Regions from separate parts of the Homo sapiens genome. Here regions 2, 3 and 4 are each linked to region 1. Evidence: promoter capture Hi-C in 16 types of primary human blood cells and fetal thymus (Javierre and others, 2016). All regions are on one chromosome and are shown on one strand. The core of a region is centred on a gene start or on the middle of the fragment in contact, and the rest is flanking DNA. Distances in the headings are between cores, read along the strand shown.

Region 1 (4,221 bases), core at 1,171-3,670:
TAGATTCCCTTGGCTAAATTCAGAGCCCTGTTTGAATTCACTCACGCAGGAGTTGTTTTGTTTTTTTTGTTGGTAGAGGTGCCGGTTTCCCATCCCCACGGCTTATTTACAATTATGGGTGTTGTTATTTTTAAAGGATTCACAAGGTGACTAACTCTCTGTTATCTGTTGAATGGAAGGAGTGTTACATATGCAAGACCGAATGGGGCAGGCCGAGCCCCCGCCCTATGCTATTCTACAATCCAGATGGGATTCGTGATTAGAAAATAAAATTGGCCAAAGCTGTCTCGGAATCCTTTTCCCACTTCTAATTTCATCAGCACTATTAATCAGAGCTCAAAAGAGCAAGGAAATAACATCAGTTACTTTTAGATAGAAATATGTTTATAAATTTTAGATAAACTCATTTTAAGATTTCTAACTTTTGGGGAGACTAGCACTCACCACAGCATTTTTAAAACTAGGGTGAGACTTTTCAAAATATATTTCACTATATGCATTCTTCCCTTTTCAGTGTGTGAGTTAAAATATTACAAACATAAAATTATCAAATATCTTTCCCTTGATTAACCAACCTGATTAACCCCTTAATTAATTAAGCCTAACAACTGTCCCCATCACAACTTATGACTCATGTGGACTCTATTTTTACATGTTTAATTTCTACGCCAGGGTATTTTCAGAGGGAAAATCCAAAACAATTAAATACCTTCAGTGGAATTAAGCGTAAGTAAAACTCAGCAAAATCTGTCTGGTATACAAAGCTTTGCAGAAAAATGTTTCCTTCTCTTTCAATAAAGTGACATTTTCCTCACAGCATATGACATTTTATGTGGCTTGGCTATTTGTTCCCCAGTGTTGGACGATCAGGGCCACTACGCACTCGTGGGGTTCTCTGCCCTGTCCCCCGAAGATTCTGCCTTTTGTGTTTCCTCGGGGCTGGGCTGGACAGAGGATGGAGGCAGGCGGCCCAGTCTGGGTCCAAACGGAACGGCAGCGGAGGTGGGGGTGGGGGTGGGGGCGGGGGGAATCTTCGCTGTTGTCTCTTCCTGGTGGCACAGGGGAGGCGGCTTGTCCTCTCGGAGGCCTCAGCCTGCCTCAGAGTACAGATTGCCCCCCCTCCCCCCGTCCAGCACGCGTCTCTTTTGCGTCCAGATTGGCCGCGACCGGAGCTCAATAGCAGGAGGTTAATTTCCTTCACAAAGGTGAAGGGGGCACGGCTCCGTGGGGGCTGCGCCCAGACAGGCAGCCCCTTTATTTCGCAGCGCCTTGATTGGAGCCCTTGATTTAGCATCTGATGTCAACCGGCAAACAAAATGCCCGCTCGGAATGAAAATGCATGAGGCCGCGCGGGGAGGAGAAAGCCAACTTCACTGGGGCGCACGAGGCCGACCGCGCGTTTCGGGCTTCGGCCAACTCGACCCGGATTAACCGAGCCTTGGACCACGCGGAAGCTCCGGGCGGCCTGGGTCGGGCCCCGCCAAAGATGCCATTCCCAAGCCTCCAAGAACCCAAAAGTTCAGAAATTCACGTTCCTCTGGGAACCCAGCCCAGCCCGCCCGCGCTCCAATCCCGCGCTTTCGGGAGACTGAGAAGGCCGTGCCAATTCCTTCTCAAACTCGAAAGAAACCTTCTCTAGCCCCGTGGGCGCGCGGAGGCTGCGAGCACAAACATCGCCCTCGGCCACTGCCAGAAGGCCGGGCCCCCTGTCCACACTTGGAACCCCGGGGAACCCTTTTGCTTGGCCTCTTGGGTCCAGCGGCCCATCCGTCCAAGGTCCGGGCGGAGGCCGTCCGGACCCTGCTGCTCTCTCGGATTCTTGTTTATTTCCCAAACACCACGCGGAGCCACTGCGCCTCCGCAACGATCTCCCCCGCACCGCCCCGGCGCGCCCCCGCCCCCACCCAATCAGCGCGCACAACTTCCCCCTCGGCTCCGGCTCGCGGATTGAACCCTCCTGACATATTTGGGGCCATTCTTCTCCTTTGTTGCTATTTTGCTAGCGACCCGCGGGTAATCCCCGCGCGGGAGGGGGGCGTGCATTGTCGCGCTGATGGACGGGCCCATTTGGCGGCTCCGCGCCCCCCGGAGGAGAGACACAAAGCCCAGGCACGTGCGCCTCCCCATAGAGAAGCAGCAGACCGTGAAGGGAGGCGGGGCCGGGCGTGTGCCTGGACCGGGCGGGGCGGCGGCGCCGGGCGGGGCGACCAGGGGCGCGCGCGGGGGCCCCGCGCCCTCAGGTACATCTGCCGCACCTACCGGGCGACCCCCGAGTCCCGGCCCCCTTTTGGCCGCCCCATCGCCCTCCCACCCTGCCAGGCTGAGGAGCTGCGGACGCGCTGATTGGCTCCAGGGGAAGCGGGAGGCGAGAACAATGGCCCCCTCCCCCCGTTAAAAGGGAGCGGCTGCCGGGCCCGGGGACAGGGACGCGCGTGCAGGGCGCAGAGCTGGGCCGAGCCGTCGCCGGCGCCACGCGAGTCCCGCAGCCGCCGCGCCCGGGCAATGGGCCGGGGGCACTGAGGGCCGCCGGGGCCGAGCGCGGAGGGGGGACCGAGCCAGTGCCGTGCCCTCGGGCCGCGCCAACATGCCCCGCGGCTTCCTGGTGAAGCGCAGCAAGAAGTCCACGCCCGTTTCCTACCGGGTCCGCGGCGGCGAGGACGGCGACCGCGCACTGCTGCTCTCGCCCAGCTGCGGGGGCGCCCGCGCCGAGCCCCCGGCGCCGAGCCCGGTCCCCGGGCCGCTGCCGCCGCCGCCGCCCGCGGAGCGCGCCCATGCAGCGCTCGCCGCCGCGCTTGCCTGCGCGCCTGGGCCGCAGCCACCCCCGCAGGGCCCGCGGGCCGCGCACTTCGGCAACCCCGAGGCTGCGCACCCCGCGCCGCTCTACAGTCCCACGCGGCCCGTGAGCCGCGAGCACGAGAAGCACAAGTACTTCGAACGCAGCTTCAACCTGGGCTCGCCGGTCTCGGCCGAGTCCTTCCCCACGCCCGCCGCGCTGCTCGGAGGGGGCGGCGGCGGCGGCGCGAGCGGAGCTGGCGGAGGCGGCACCTGCGGCGGCGACCCGCTGCTCTTCGCGCCCGCCGAGCTCAAGATGGGCACGGCGTTCTCGGCTGGCGCCGAGGCGGCCCGCGGCCCGGGCCCCGGCCCCCCACTGCCCCCTGCCGCCGCCCTGCGGCCCCCGGGAAAGCGGCCCCCGCCCCCTACCGCCGCGGAGCCGCCCGCCAAGGCAGTCAAGGCCCCGGGCGCCAAGAAGCCCAAGGCCATCCGCAAGCTGCACTTCGAGGACGAGGTGACCACGTCGCCCGTGCTGGGGCTCAAGATCAAGGAGGGCCCGGTGGAGGCGCCGCGGGGCCGCGCGGGGGGCGCGGCGCGGCCGCTGGGCGAGTTCATCTGCCAGCTGTGCAAGGAGGAGTACGCCGACCCGTTCGCGCTGGCGCAGCACAAATGCTCGCGCATCGTGCGTGTGGAGTACCGCTGTCCCGAGTGCGCCAAGGTCTTCAGCTGCCCGGCCAACCTGGCCTCGCACCGCCGCTGGCACAAACCGCGGCCCGCGCCCGCCGCCGCCCGCGCGCCGGAGCCAGAAGCAGCAGCCAGGGCTGAGGCGCGGGAGGCACCCGGCGGCGGCAGCGACCGGGACACGCCGAGCCCCGGCGGCGTGTCCGAGTCGGGCTCCGAGGACGGGCTCTACGAGTGCCATCACTGCGCCAAGAAGTTCCGCCGCCAGGCCTACCTACGCAAGCACCTGCTGGCGCACCACCAGGCGCTGCAGGCCAAGGGCGCGCCGCTAGCGCCCCCGGCCGAGGACCTACTGGCCTTGTACCCCGGGCCCGACGAGAAGGCGCCCCAGGAGGCGGCCGGCGACGGCGAGGGGGCCGGCGTGCTGGGCCTGAGTGCGTCCGCCGAGTGCCACCTGTGCCCAGTGTGCGGAGAGTCGTTCGCCAGCAAGGGCGCTCAGGAGCGCCACCTGCGCCTGCTGCACGCCGCCCAGGTGTTCCCCTGCAAGTACTGCCCGGCCACCTTCTACAGCTCGCCCGGCCTTACGCGGCACATCAACAAGTGCCACCCATCCGAAAACAGACAGGTGATCCTCCTGCAGGTGCCCGTGCGCCCGGCCTGCTAGAGCGCGCCCTCCACCCCGGCCCCCGAACTGTGCCTTCGCTTGGAGACCCACAAAGAGAGTGCGCCCTGCACTCCCCGAACCCGAGTCCGCGCTGGGGGAGCCTC
Region 2 (4,221 bases), core at 545-3,044, 230 kb before region 1:
TACCTACATTCTCTCAAGGCCCTAGGGCTCTGCAATCAGCAGGTGATGAAGCCATCCAGGCCTATGTCCTTCCCTTAAGGGCAACAAGTTCCCCTGGCCCTACAGAGGTCCAGAGATGCTGTCTGGGAGCCAGAGCCAGGAGTAGGAAACCTTAGAAATCTATCTGGTGCTCTGTTCTACTGCAGCTGGCCTGACTGTGACAGCACTAGGCAAAGTACTTTCCGCTCTTCCCTCCGTTTTTCCCATGCAAAGGAGTCTCTCCCCATGTCCACCACCACCACAGGCCCACAGGGAGTACTACCAGGGTACTACTGATGTTCACTAAAGGCCCAAGGGCTCTTCTGTCAGCTTGTGGTGAATGCTTTCAGGCCTGGGACTCATCCTTCAGGGCAGTGGGCTCTTCCACTGGCCTATAGTAGGTCCAGAGATGCCATTCAAGAGCCAAAGCCTGGAACTGGGGACCCTAAGAGCCTGTTTGGTGCTCTTCCCCACTGTGGCCAAGCTGACACCTAAGCTCAAGACAAAGTCCCCTTTACTCTTTCCTCTGCTTTTCTGAAGCAGAAGTGGTCTCTTCTCGTAGCCACTACAGCTGAGAATGTGCCGGTCACACCTGAAGTCAGCACAGCTCTTAGTCTCACCCAAGGCCCATGGCGAGTACTACCTGGCTACTGCTGCTGATTATTCAGGGCCCAGGGGCTCTTTAGTCACCACATGATGAATCCTACTAGGACTGGGTCCTTCATGTCAAGGCAGCAGCTTCCCTTCCAGTCCAGGGTGTGTCTAGGAATGTCATCCAGGAGCCAGGGCCTGGAATAGGGACCTTGTGACTCTGCCAGGTGCCCTATCCAACTGTGGCTGAGCTGGGATCCAAGTTACAAGACAAAGTCCTCTTCACTCCCCTCTCCTCTTTTCAAGTGGAAGGAAGGAGTCGGAGTCTCTTTTGGAGCTGTGAGATGCGGTGCCTGGGATTAGGGGAGGGGTAACGCAAGCACTCTTTTAGCAGATCCAGCTGGTGTTTTACTAGCTCGCATGTCCCCTAAGTCCGGTAGCTCAGTCCTCGTGGCCTAGACAGCCTTTCAAGTTTATTTAGGACCCCAGAGCACTTTTGCCTGTGGTGGCACGGCTTGCCAGAACTCAGGTTCCAACCAGCAGGATGGGTGATTCCCATCTGGCTAGGGCTGATGCAAATGCTCCCTCTTGGGGTGCCAGCTGAGTTCTGCCTGGTGTTGACAGCACTGCATTCCATTGCAAAGTCCCACAGTCACTGCACTTTCTCTCCCCAAGTGTACAGATTTTCCACGCCACGTGGCTACTGCCAGGGGAATGGGGAAAGGTTAGTGTTGGCAATTCAAGACTGTCTTTCCTGCCCTCTTCAGTGCCTCTTTCAGTGATATGAAGTTAAAACCAGATAGTGTGATCACTCCCCTGATTTTTGGTTCTTATGAAGGTGCTTTGTTGTGTACATAATTGTTAAATTTTGTGTTCCTGTGGGGAGGATGATTGGTGGAAGCTTCTATTTGATCATTTTGCTTCACTTCCTCTAGCACTATTTATTGTACAGTTTGTTCTTTCCCCCTAACTTGAAATGCCATCTTCATCATATATCAACATTTCATAACTGTCTGTGTCTATTTCTGGCCTTCATTCTGTTCTATTCTTGCCCCAGTAACTCTCTGTTTTAATAACTATGTCTTTATAATGTCTTAATATTCAGTTGGGAATTTGGCTCTCTTTTTGTTCATCTTTCTTAAATTTTTGTTTACTGTTTCTCCATATTTGCTCTTTTAGAATCAATTTATTTCATCACACAAAAATTAAGATTTTTGATGGATATTTAAAATAAATGTAAAAAGCACAAAATTATATTATTATTTATTCCTGAAGCCCTCAACATGTATTATTTTGCACTCCGTATGTATTATTCCTATTAGATAAAGAGCGGGGTAGATCCAGAGTCTTGTGGGACCTAAAGTCTGACCCATTCAAGAGCCCTTTTTAAGGAGAGTAATGCAAAATGATGAATGTGGCATTAGATGCTGTGCCTTGGCGGAGCCTGTGCTGGGAAGATGCCTGAACCTCTAAGCTTTATTAGCTTCATGGTAAACCCGCTTCAGATAAGCAGTCTCACTTAGAGAGAAAGTCCTGACAAATTGTGCCTTTACTCCCACTAGAGTAAACCAATAGTTCATGACTTCTAAACTACTTAGATGGTATAAGCCATAAAATAACAATTAAATCGCGCAGCTTCAGTTGTATTTTTAGTCATGTGTTACACAATACCACTGCCTCAGCTTTCCCCAGGATAGCACCTCTTATTTGAGGATCTCAGGGGACATTATGAACATTAAGTAATTAAACCTCGCAAGACCCCAGAGACACTGGAGAGAGAGATCCAGCTTCACCTTGCCCAGTTCTGAAATGCAGTCACCTCTAGGGATGAACGTGGCAGCTGCTTAGTAATAAACTGCAACACCTCACGACAGTTTAGTCAAGCAATTAGTCTTTGTAGTTGGTAACTGTCTCATGAACATTAGACCATTGACAGTTAAGTCACCAGGATTATTAGTTTACTGAAAATCTAATCCAGTCTTTAAGACTTTTTACTTTTTTGTAATATTTTCCTAATTATAAAAGAAGCATGCACAGTGAATGTCTACTTTTAGTTGCATTTTTTGTAGTTCTTCAAACTTAAAATAGGAAAGAAATATCTTTGTAATACATTAAAATAGGTAGTTACTGATAATGAGGTTTTTTTAATTCACAAGTTTTCTGCTGATCAAAAGTAATCAATGATAGTAAAAGTTGGAAGAGTGGATACCTTTGAGAGGAGTATTGACTGGACGGGGAGATGAGGGGAACCTCTGGGTGCTGGAAATTTTTTTTTTTTTTTTTTTTTTTTAGTGCTGTCTTGTTGCATTTTTTAAAAAATTTTTTATTTTTTATTTTATTATTATTATACTTTAAGTTTTAGGGTACATGTGCACAATGTGCAGGTTTGTTACATATGTATACATATGCCATGCTGGTGTGCTGCACCCATTAACTCGTCATTTAGCATTAGGTATATCTCCTAATGCTATCCCTCCCACCTCCCCCCACCCCACAACAGTCCCCAGAGTGTGATGTTCCCCTTCCTGTGTCCATGTGTTCTCATTGTTCATTTCCCACCTATGAGTGAGAACATGCGGTGTTTGGTTTTTTTGTCCTTGCGATAGTTTACTGAGAATGATGATTTCCAATTTCATCCATGTCCCTACAAAGGACATGAACTCATCCTTTTTTATGGCAATCATTAAAAAGTCAGGAAACAACAGGTGCTGGAGAGGATGTGGAGAAATATGAACACTTTTACACTGTTGATGGGACTATAAACTAGTTCAACCATTGTGGAAGTCAGTGTGGCAATTCCTCAGGGATCTAGAACTAGAAATACCATTTGACCCAGCCATCCCATTACTGGGTATATACCCAAAGGACTATAATCATGCTGCTATAAAGACACATGCACACGTATGCTTATTGCGGCACTATTCACAATAGCAAAGACTTGGAACCAACCCAAATGTCCAACAATGATAGACTGGATTAAGAAAATGTGGCACATATACACCATGGAATACTATGCAGCCATAAAAAAGGAAATGTTTTATATGTTCTTTTTTTTTCCTTTTTTTTTTTTTGTTTTTGGAGATGGAGTCTCACTCTGTCATCTAGGCTATAGTGCAGTGGCACAATCTTGACTCACTGCAACCTCCGCCTCCCAGGTTCAAGTGATTCTCCTGCCTCTCCTGAGTAGCTGGGATTACAGGTGTGCACCACCATGCCCGGCTATGTTTTTTGTATTTTAAGTAGAGACGAAGTTTCATCATGTTGGTCAGGCTGGTCTTGAACTCCTGACCTCAGGTGATCCAACTCCCTTGGCCTCCCAAAGTGCTGGGATTACAGGTGTGAGCTACTGTGACAAGCCAGTTTTATATATTTTTATAGGCGTTGGTTGTTCAGGAACAGACATATGTAGAAATTCCCTGAGCTGTACACTTTTCATATGTGTGTTAATCTCAACAACAAGGTCAATAAGCCTAAAAAGCATCCTGCTCTTGTCATGATGAGAGTGCTAGAAACCCCAGATAGTCTTATTTGGAAAATTCTGCAGGGTGCAGGACATATCGGGAGCTAGAGATATGACAGTTTTTATTTTCCTCAAAGCATCTTTCTTCAGAA
Region 3 (4,221 bases), core at 712-3,211, 200 kb after region 1:
ATATACTCTTATTTCATCTCATTTTACTGTTTCATTTCCACATCAACACATCTTAAAATAGAAAGACAATTCTAAACTCATTTATGTGACTTTCTAAAAAATTCATTCTAAGGAACATTGTTTACTGCTAACTTACTTGTTTTTATAAAATGAGAAGGATCTATAGTTGATTATTATTTCCAAGTAAATTTTTTTTCCTGCAAAATATTAGCATAAGGCTTCTTTAAAGTAGGGTATTGTTAAGTAAACCTTCCTCTTTTGTTTCTTTCACTGAAGGAGTTCATTATTATCTGAGAGTTAATTGTCTTTTCTATACCCCATAATCCTCCACATACCCTGAGTTGCATCATTCTGTAAAAGATGCTTCCACTTGCAATGATGCCTGTAAAATATTTGAGCAGGGAGTACAAACAATTCTACTTTGTGTTCCTATTTCTACATTTATCTAGGAAATAAATGAGATTATGGGACTAAGCCAGCCTGCTACATGGATGTCCTCTATACACTGCTAAAATCACAATGAATATGACAGACTACTCACTAGGACAGTATGGTTATTATTTCATATAAGAGTTCAATGATTTTTAAAGCTCAAAGTAAGTATTGGGAAATACATACTGCAAACTATTTAAATTCAAGTACATTCTAAAGCAACAAAAAAAGTTTGCTTATCAGGAGAATAACTTCTTACATGTACCCTGAGGTATCAAAAGGTCTGTGTGTCTGCATCATACCTTCAACGAATACAAAAAATGCAGAAAGGACAGTTACTTGATAGTTAATAAATGATTCAAGTTCATTAATAAGTATTTACAATTTAAAGGGTAAATCTCAAACACTCCCTATACCTCTATATTGGTTAAGAAAACCTAGTAATAAAATGAAATGTCTTAAAATTTATTGAATCTTTTCTATTCCTTTCTTTCCATCCCCAATGCTACCGGCTTAGTTCTTATCATTTTTTTAAAATCTGTATTAAACACTTCCTAATTGTTCTCCATCTACAGGCCAATCTCTGATTCTATCCTACTATCACATTTTCAAATCCATCTTCCAAATGCAGTCCAGAATCTCTGTGAAGCATAAATCAATCACATCACTTGCCTGCTTGATATCCCAAATCAAGTCAAGAATCCATGTGTCCCTATCCGTAATCTCCCTCAACTGGCAGAAGTCTTCCCAAGGGAGGAAGGTCAGGGTCTGGCCACACCCTATCTCCCAAACCTAGGGCCTACAAGGAGGAAGAGGTAGCTAGTGGCTCCTTGGGCCTTTCTGTTCGAACTTGAACCAAACTTAAATTGCATTGGGAGAAATTAAAATAACTCCTTATCAAGAAATGTCTGGACTCATCTTCTATCTTACAGGTAAAGTCTTTCACAAAAACATCCTAACTACTAAAACAACAATTTTCAAACATTTTTAAATGATCAGTACCACTTTCTTCAAACCATATTTAATGCAGAACCCAAACAAAAAGTGGTTATAATAGTATTTTGAGGTTGACAACACAGGCAGAGGTTAGATCATAGAGGCCATAGAATAAAATTAAAATTTGGTTGGCACAATGCAAATGCAAAGTCAGTGGGGAGAAGAAGCAGGGATGTGAAACCTGATTTACATTTTTGAAAGACCATTGTGCTTGCTGTGTGTAAAAGAGTTGAAACTACTGAGAAATTCAACACTTCTGATGTATTTTCATAAATATTACTAATGTCTTTAAAGAGTGATATGCTATTTCCAATTAATGGGCAATCACAATAAAGGAGTCGCAGAATACCTGATCCTCGCTGGTTAATCCCAGGTGCATCACAAGGTAAAAATGCACCAGGAAATCTGAGTTTGGCAGAACGTCCTGGCGTCTGGTCATCATGGCACAGATCAGCCTGTAGGCTTGTAGTTTGCCTTCCTTATATTCATTTGGCAGTGTCGCCGCCTGTCAAGGAGATGATGTTTCCAGATTAAATCAAGCCCAGGTGCAGAGTATTTCAACATTTCATTTACTTCTCAGTTTTCCTTAAGAGTTGTTTATGGACATGTGGGATGCAGTTACTTTAGTAAGACCCAGCCTGTCTTCAAAACATGCAGTCTTGGGCAATTACATTTTTCAAACTCAATTTCAGAAAGGAAGAGGAAATCGCAATAAAGGAATAAACACATATCCACTTGCCTTAAACAGCCATGATGCAAACATTCTGAGTGGTGGGATCAAAACTGGAGGAGATGGAGAAGACTGGTTATCCAGGCTTATTGCTAGATTATCCCGTATCTAATTCACAAAGAGGAGAATTTTAGGGTAGGTAACATTACGTTTATCCCAACAGTATTTCAACAGTCTTCTGTGACCATATAGCTGCTTTCAGTTAATTTCTATAAGTGAAAACCTGTAATATTTACAAGTTTCTCTTTTATTGTGAAATTATCCTTTTGAATTACATGTTTGGCTTACTGTATGTGGTTTTAGATTTATATACAAAACAAAGGCATTGTTTTTCCTTGAACGTTAATGGCTGGGGAGGTCCTGAATTCCAAACGATAAGTAACATTTTAATGAGTTATACTGAACAAACATGAACCATGTTTTTGAAAAAAAAATTTAATACATGTGAATGTCAGAACCCAAACAAAAATCAGAATAAAAATTGTATGTACTACTCAGGAGGCTAAAGCAGGAGAATTGCTTGAACCCAGGAGGCAGAGGGTTGCAGTGAGCCAAGATGGCGCCACTGCACTCCAGCCTGGGCGACAGGGCAAGCAAGACTCCATTTCAAAAAAAAAAAAAAAACTTGTATGTACTCTAAGATTCTACTTTCATAAAAAGAAAGAAGACTATATATTAATATTGGCTATTTCTATGAATACTGATGTTAATTTTCTTCTTTGTATTTTTCTACATTTTTCAAATTGTATACAATACAACCAATATCACTTTTATAAAGAGAGTAACTAGAATGACTTAACATCCTGTATTTAATATCCTATAGCAATATTCTACTTTTGCACTAAATGAAATAACTTTTGCATTTATAAAATAGTCATGTTATATATGATTATTCTTTGATAATCAAATGGACTTTGTCTAAATGTACCATTTGTGTTTCGGAATATGTTCAGTAGTTAACTGAAACACAGTTTTTACATTAAATGATAAGACCATTTTCCTGGATTAGAATAAAAAGTAACATAGCAGAACTTACCTTTGCTAGTTTGTACCAGAGTTCATAGAGATAGCAGAAAACTCTGGCATGGATCTTGGGTGACTGGATGTTATTCACATCTCCGAGGATCCCCAAGACCCTTCGCCATAACACAGCAGCAGAGTCTGGGTGCCAACCAGTGAGGCTCCCCCCGGCGATTATACTACAGTCATCTGTGAGGCACTCGCTGCTATCTATGCAGAAAAACATGTCTGTTAACCCTGTAAACAATCTTGATTTCATCATACCTTTTTTCTTTAAGGCAAATTACCTTAGGTATTCAAAGTAAAATAATTAAGGCAAAAAATGTGAAACAGCTGAGAATTTAAAAGGAGAGAAAAGCAGGATCAAGGAAGAAAGGTCAAATGATTTTGATTCTTCAAACTAAAAGAGCAACAAGCTAAGACATGACATAACAGTTCCTGGAGACCCTGTGATGGGTTTTATAGATCAGGGGAGAGGAAGAGGGAGACCCTTGAGCAGGATGGGTGGGAAACAGTGCCATGGAAATGGGTGGCCAGGGAAGCCTCAATGCTGGAGTAACATCTGCGGTGGTTGTTGTTAGGTCAGGTTCATGGGGGTGAAATGTGCATACAAGAAATTTCCATCCCTTTCAGGTTTAAGGAGTTTTAAGGAATGTATACGTTCATGCAACTGTTGCCATAAACTGCCACCATAATTGAAATATGGAGGATCTCATCACTCCAAAAAGTGCCCCTTCATAATTGGTCCCCTTCCTCTATTCTCAGCCTCTTGCAACTACTGCTTTGTTCTCTGTTCCTATAGTTTTGCCTTTTCCAGAATGTCACATGAATGAAATTCTACAGTTTGTAGCCTGTCTGGTTTCTTTCACTCAGCAAAATGCATTTGAGATTCATCTGTACAGTTGTGGGTATCAGTTGTCTCTTCTTATTACTGATTAATATTCTATTTTACAGATGTGTCATAGTTTATCCATTCACCTGTAGATATTTAGATTTGTTCCTGTTTTTTGGCAATTATGAATACAGTTGCTATAAACATTCAT
Region 4 (4,221 bases), core at 537-3,036, 180 kb before region 1:
CATAGTGACACATGGCTATCAGAACACACTAAGTAAAGAATCCACACCTCTTCCACCCTTTATCCAGAAAAGGAAGGAGCTAGATCACCTCCTCCTCAGGTTCCCCACATCTCATTCTAGTTAAAGCGAAAACAAACAGGCTGCTGTTCTCAGCACCCAGTGTGGAAGGAATAGTATATATAGAGCCACCTTGCCTCAGAGTCTGCCAAAAAAAGGTCACATGTGGAATAAGACTTACCTTCTGATTTTTTTTTCTTTTCTTTTCTTTTTTTTTTTTTTTAGATAGAGTCTCACTGTTTTGCCCAGGCTGGAGTGCAGTGGCACGACTTCGACTCACTGCAACCTCTGCCTCCTGGGTTCTGGGTTCAAGTGATTCTAGTGCCTTGGCCAACCAAGTAGCTGGGATTACAGGCATGAGCCACCATGCACGGCTAATTTTTGTATTTTTAGTAGAGATGGAGTTTCACCATGTCAGCTGGGCTGGTCTTGAACTCCTGGTCTCAAGTGATCCTCCTGCCTTGGCCTCCCAAAGTGCTGGGATTACAGGTGTGAGCCACCTCACCCAGCCAGCCTACATTCTGCTTTTTGAGCTGAGTAAAAACCTTTTGGGAAATAGTTCTCAGAGGCAAATACAGACATAGAGAGCAGCCCCATTCAGTAGGAATACGCTGTGAGCCACATGTGTAATTTTAGATTTTTGAATAGCCACATTAATTTAAAAATCAAAAAGTAGGTGAAATTAATTGTAACATTTATTTCTTATTTAACCCATTATATCCAAAATATTATTGTTTCAGCGTGTAATCAATATTTAAAAAGCACGAATGAGATACTTTATGTTACTTTTTTGTACCAAGTCCACAATTCAGTGGATATTTTATTCTTACAGCACATCTCAATTCTGAGTACCACATTTCAAGTGTACAGGCTCTTGTACTGGACAGTGTCATTTTAGAGGAGGGCACAAACATACAGCCATAGCCCGTTCCTCCCCCTGAAATTCTAGGAACAAAGGAAAGCTCTGAAATATTCCTCTTTGGTGAATATGAATAGCAGAGATGAATGCAAAATGGTTGTGACCCCTGATCAACAGTAGATTTCCATGGACAGACTGGTGAAACGATGTTTGCAGTTTTGTGCTACTTTGCAGGAAGATAACCCCATGTCCTACTGAACATTTATTGGGCACCACTGTAGGCTACAAAAAGCCCTGGTCTTTTAGAGTGGACCATGATATGGTCTGAGCTTCAAGCCTTGCTGGGGGAAGATGTCCACTTATTCTCACTTTCCAGTCCAGTATCCAACAACACTCTTTATAACTCAGTTGTAGTATTTATTATATGTAAAAAAACATGTAATAAGCATGGGGAAGCTCTCTGGCTATCTCCATGCAAGCTTCATGATTAGTTCACTTGACAGCTGTTTATTGAGCATCTACCATGTGCCAGGCATTGCTCTAGCCATGAGGTGGCAGCAGTGAGCAAATAGACCAACACTGCCATCTTTGTCAAATTTTATTCTAGTGGGAGGAGACAAACAGTGAAAAACAAAATAAAGAGAAAGTAGGAAGTGCTGTGGAGAAAAATAGAACAGGGAATGAGGATGGAAGGTCAGGGTCCAAATTTTAAATAGGGGGTCAGGGTCAGGGAGGGCGTCACTGAGAGGGTGAAGTTTCAGCAAAGACTCAATGTTGAGGTGATGGAACAGGCTCATAGATTTGCTGGAGGAGAATTACAGGTAGGAACTTCTGATGAGGTAACTTCTGATGAGGTAGGAACTTCCTCAGGTAGGAACTTCTGATGAGGTAAGAACTTCTGATGAGGCAGGAACTTCTGATGAGGTAGGAACTTCCTCAGGTAGGGAATTCTGATAAGGTAGCACCTTCTGATGAGATAGGAACTTCTGATGACATAAGAACTTCTGATGAAGTAGGACCTTCTGATGAGGTAGGAACTTCCTCAAGTGGGAACCTCTGATGAGGGACTATGTCTGGCATGTTTGAGGAACAGCATAGTGGCCTGTGCAGCAGAGCAGGGAAACCAAGAAGCCAACTATTTGGAGATGAGTCAGAGCAAGCAGCAATCCCAGAGGGAGGGCACGGGGAAGGAGGCTGTGGTCATGGAGAGTTGGAGAGGGGGCTCTCAGCCACTGTAGAACTTTGGCTTTTACTGGGAGTGCAAGCTTATGCTCGTAAATGTAGCAAAATTATGGTAATTATTAGACTCCCTGCTGAATCATGTTTGTTTAATGAAGCTCGTATATTGTAATCTTATGTATCTTACTTTATGCATTTAAAAATATTCTGAGAGGGGCCATACACATAAAAGAGGTTAAGAACACCTCTATTACTGGGAATTTGAGTATAAGAGTCTTGTGATCTGACTTAACATTTGATAAGCATTGCTCTGGCAAATTGGTGGAGGATGGCTTGTCAGGAACAATGGCAGAAATGTGGAGAGACACTAGTATGCTGTTCCAGCAACCCAGGAGAGAGGTGGTGGAGGCTGGACTAGCACTGGAGGTCTTGAGAAGTCGTTCCATTCTTAGATGCATTTTGAAAGCAGAGCCAGCCCAAAGTTAGGCTGAAAGAGAGGTGTGCAAGAAAACAGATGAGGCCAAAGGTCTGGGCCTGAACCACTGGAAGGATGGAGTTGCCATTACCTAAGACAGGAAAGACAGCTGGGTGGAGGGCTTTGGAATGGAAACAGTGAGACGACTCTTAGATGGCCATGTCTTTTTCATTTGGGGGATGTAGTGTACTTTAGCTTAAGTTTATCCATATCTTCCACAGTATCTTAAATGTGTTGTCTGACACCAGTTTCTGAGAGAGGCATATTAAACTCTACCAATATGATGGTGAATTTCAAACTCTTCTCATAACCCTGTCCATTTTTACTTCAGTATCCTGGAGCTTTATTGTTAGACACCTATACATATGGTATTGTTATATCTTCCTAGTGAACTTTTATTATCAAATAAAGACCTTTTTCTCATGATTTTTGCCTTAAGATCTGGTTTAGCTGATATTTATATAGCTATGCCAGCTTATTTTTTTGCTATTAGTTGCCATTCCCTTTTCCTTTCAATTATTTTGGCATTACATATATTTTTGTAACAGCTTTATTGAGATGTAATTCACATGCCATACAATTTGTCCACTTCAAGTGTACAATTCAATGGTTTGTAGTAGAGTTACAGCATTGTGCAGTTACCACGTCTATCTGGTTCTAAAACATTTGCATCACCCAGAGGACACCCTGTACCTGTCAAGCTGTCACTCCCATTCTCTTCTCCCCTCAGCCCCCAACAATCACTAACCCACTTTCTATCATTGTAAATTTGCCTATTCTGGACATTTCATATAAATGGAATTACACAACACGTGGCCTTTTGTATATGGTTTCTCTCACTTCGCACAATGTTTTTAAAGTTCATGCATGTTGGAGTATGCATCAGTACTTTATTTTCTTTTATGGCTGAATAGTGTTCTGTTGTATGTATCAATCATACTCTGTTTATCCATTCATCAATTGATGGGCATTTGGGTTGTTTTTTCTTGGGCTATTGTGAATAATGCTGCTATGAAAATTCATGTACAGGTTTTGTGTGGACATATGTTTTTAATTCGCTTGAGTATTTTTCTAGTGCTTTTGTGGTCTTGTTTGTTACATTTACATCTGTAATCCACTGAACTAGATTTTGGTGTAAGGTGGTCATATAACAACCAAGTTCTTATCTTTCACTTAAAATTGCTCATAAACATTAAGATGGTATTAATTGTTCATCTTTTTATTAGTTAATTATAGATACAGATATTGTTCTTTGCAAATATGATACTTTGTTCATAATATGGAAGCATGTATTAAAATTTAAGCACAGATGTTCCCTACAGTTAAAAGTTAAATAGATTAGGATATTTTATTGTATCAGCACGAGGAGGAATGGCATTGTCCCATTGAGTAATAATACCCTAGTAACTGCAGAGAATTCACTGCAAGGCTAGCTACATAATATACAGGACCCATTACAAAATGAAAATGTGAGGCTCTGGCCTGGTGTGGGGCAGTCAGTCTCTCCTTCCCATGGGCTCCAACCCATGGCAAACAGGCATCCAACTAAGGGCTTGCAACCTCTGCACCAGGATGCACTGAACACCTGGGTGGGGGATGGGTAGGAGGTCCACACTGAGTTGCTAGCCGAACACGCCATGGCACTGCCTGC

What was found. Contacts are between HindIII fragments. The CHiCAGO score rates a contact against its expected background, and 5 or more counts as called.
Region 2: a contact is called between a fragment that was not itself captured here and the fragment with the promoter of INSM1 in region 1, in 1 of 17 cell types (M2 macrophages). The highest score is 5.4, in M2 macrophages.
Region 3: a fragment that was not itself captured here is called in contact with the fragment with the promoter of INSM1 in region 1 in 4 of 17 cell types (megakaryocytes, fetal thymus, M1 macrophages and 1 more); the score reaches 10.7 in megakaryocytes.
Region 4: a fragment that was not itself captured here is called in contact with the fragment with the promoter of INSM1 in region 1 in 3 of 17 cell types (M1 macrophages, M0 macrophages and M2 macrophages); the score reaches 6.0 in M1 macrophages.

Annotation. Positions count from the first base shown.
Region 1 is chr20:20,365,684-20,369,904 of GRCh38, forward strand. It overlaps INSM1 (INSM transcriptional repressor 1), which reads left to right and starts at 2,421. Exons shown (of 1, transcript NM_002196.3): 1 at 2,421-4,221. The coding sequence starts at 2,585. The coding sequence ends at 4,117. RefSeq lists an enhancer at 1,514-2,284. The HindIII fragment of the contact is 3,677 bases long and covers 763-4,221 here.
Region 2 is chr20:20,137,254-20,141,474 of GRCh38, forward strand. The region is part of intron 8 of CFAP61 (cilia and flagella associated protein 61); the gene reads left to right. Among named protein-coding and RNA genes, the nearest start is that of CFAP61, 87 kb to the left of the region's middle. The HindIII fragment of the contact is 573 bases long and covers 1,509-2,081 here.
Region 3 is chr20:20,569,681-20,573,901 of GRCh38, forward strand. It overlaps RALGAPA2 (Ral GTPase activating protein catalytic subunit alpha 2), which reads right to left. Exons shown (of 40, transcript NM_020343.4): 21 at 3,195-3,388; 22 at 2,168-2,266; 23 at 1,778-1,933. Among named protein-coding and RNA genes, the nearest start is that of RALGAPA2, 140 kb to the right of the region's middle. The HindIII fragment of the contact is 4,529 bases long and covers 1-4,221 here.
Region 4 is chr20:20,182,894-20,187,114 of GRCh38, forward strand. The region is part of intron 13 of CFAP61 (cilia and flagella associated protein 61); the gene reads left to right. Among named protein-coding and RNA genes, the nearest start is that of CFAP61-AS1, 83 kb to the right of the region's middle. The HindIII fragment of the contact is 786 bases long and covers 1,394-2,179 here.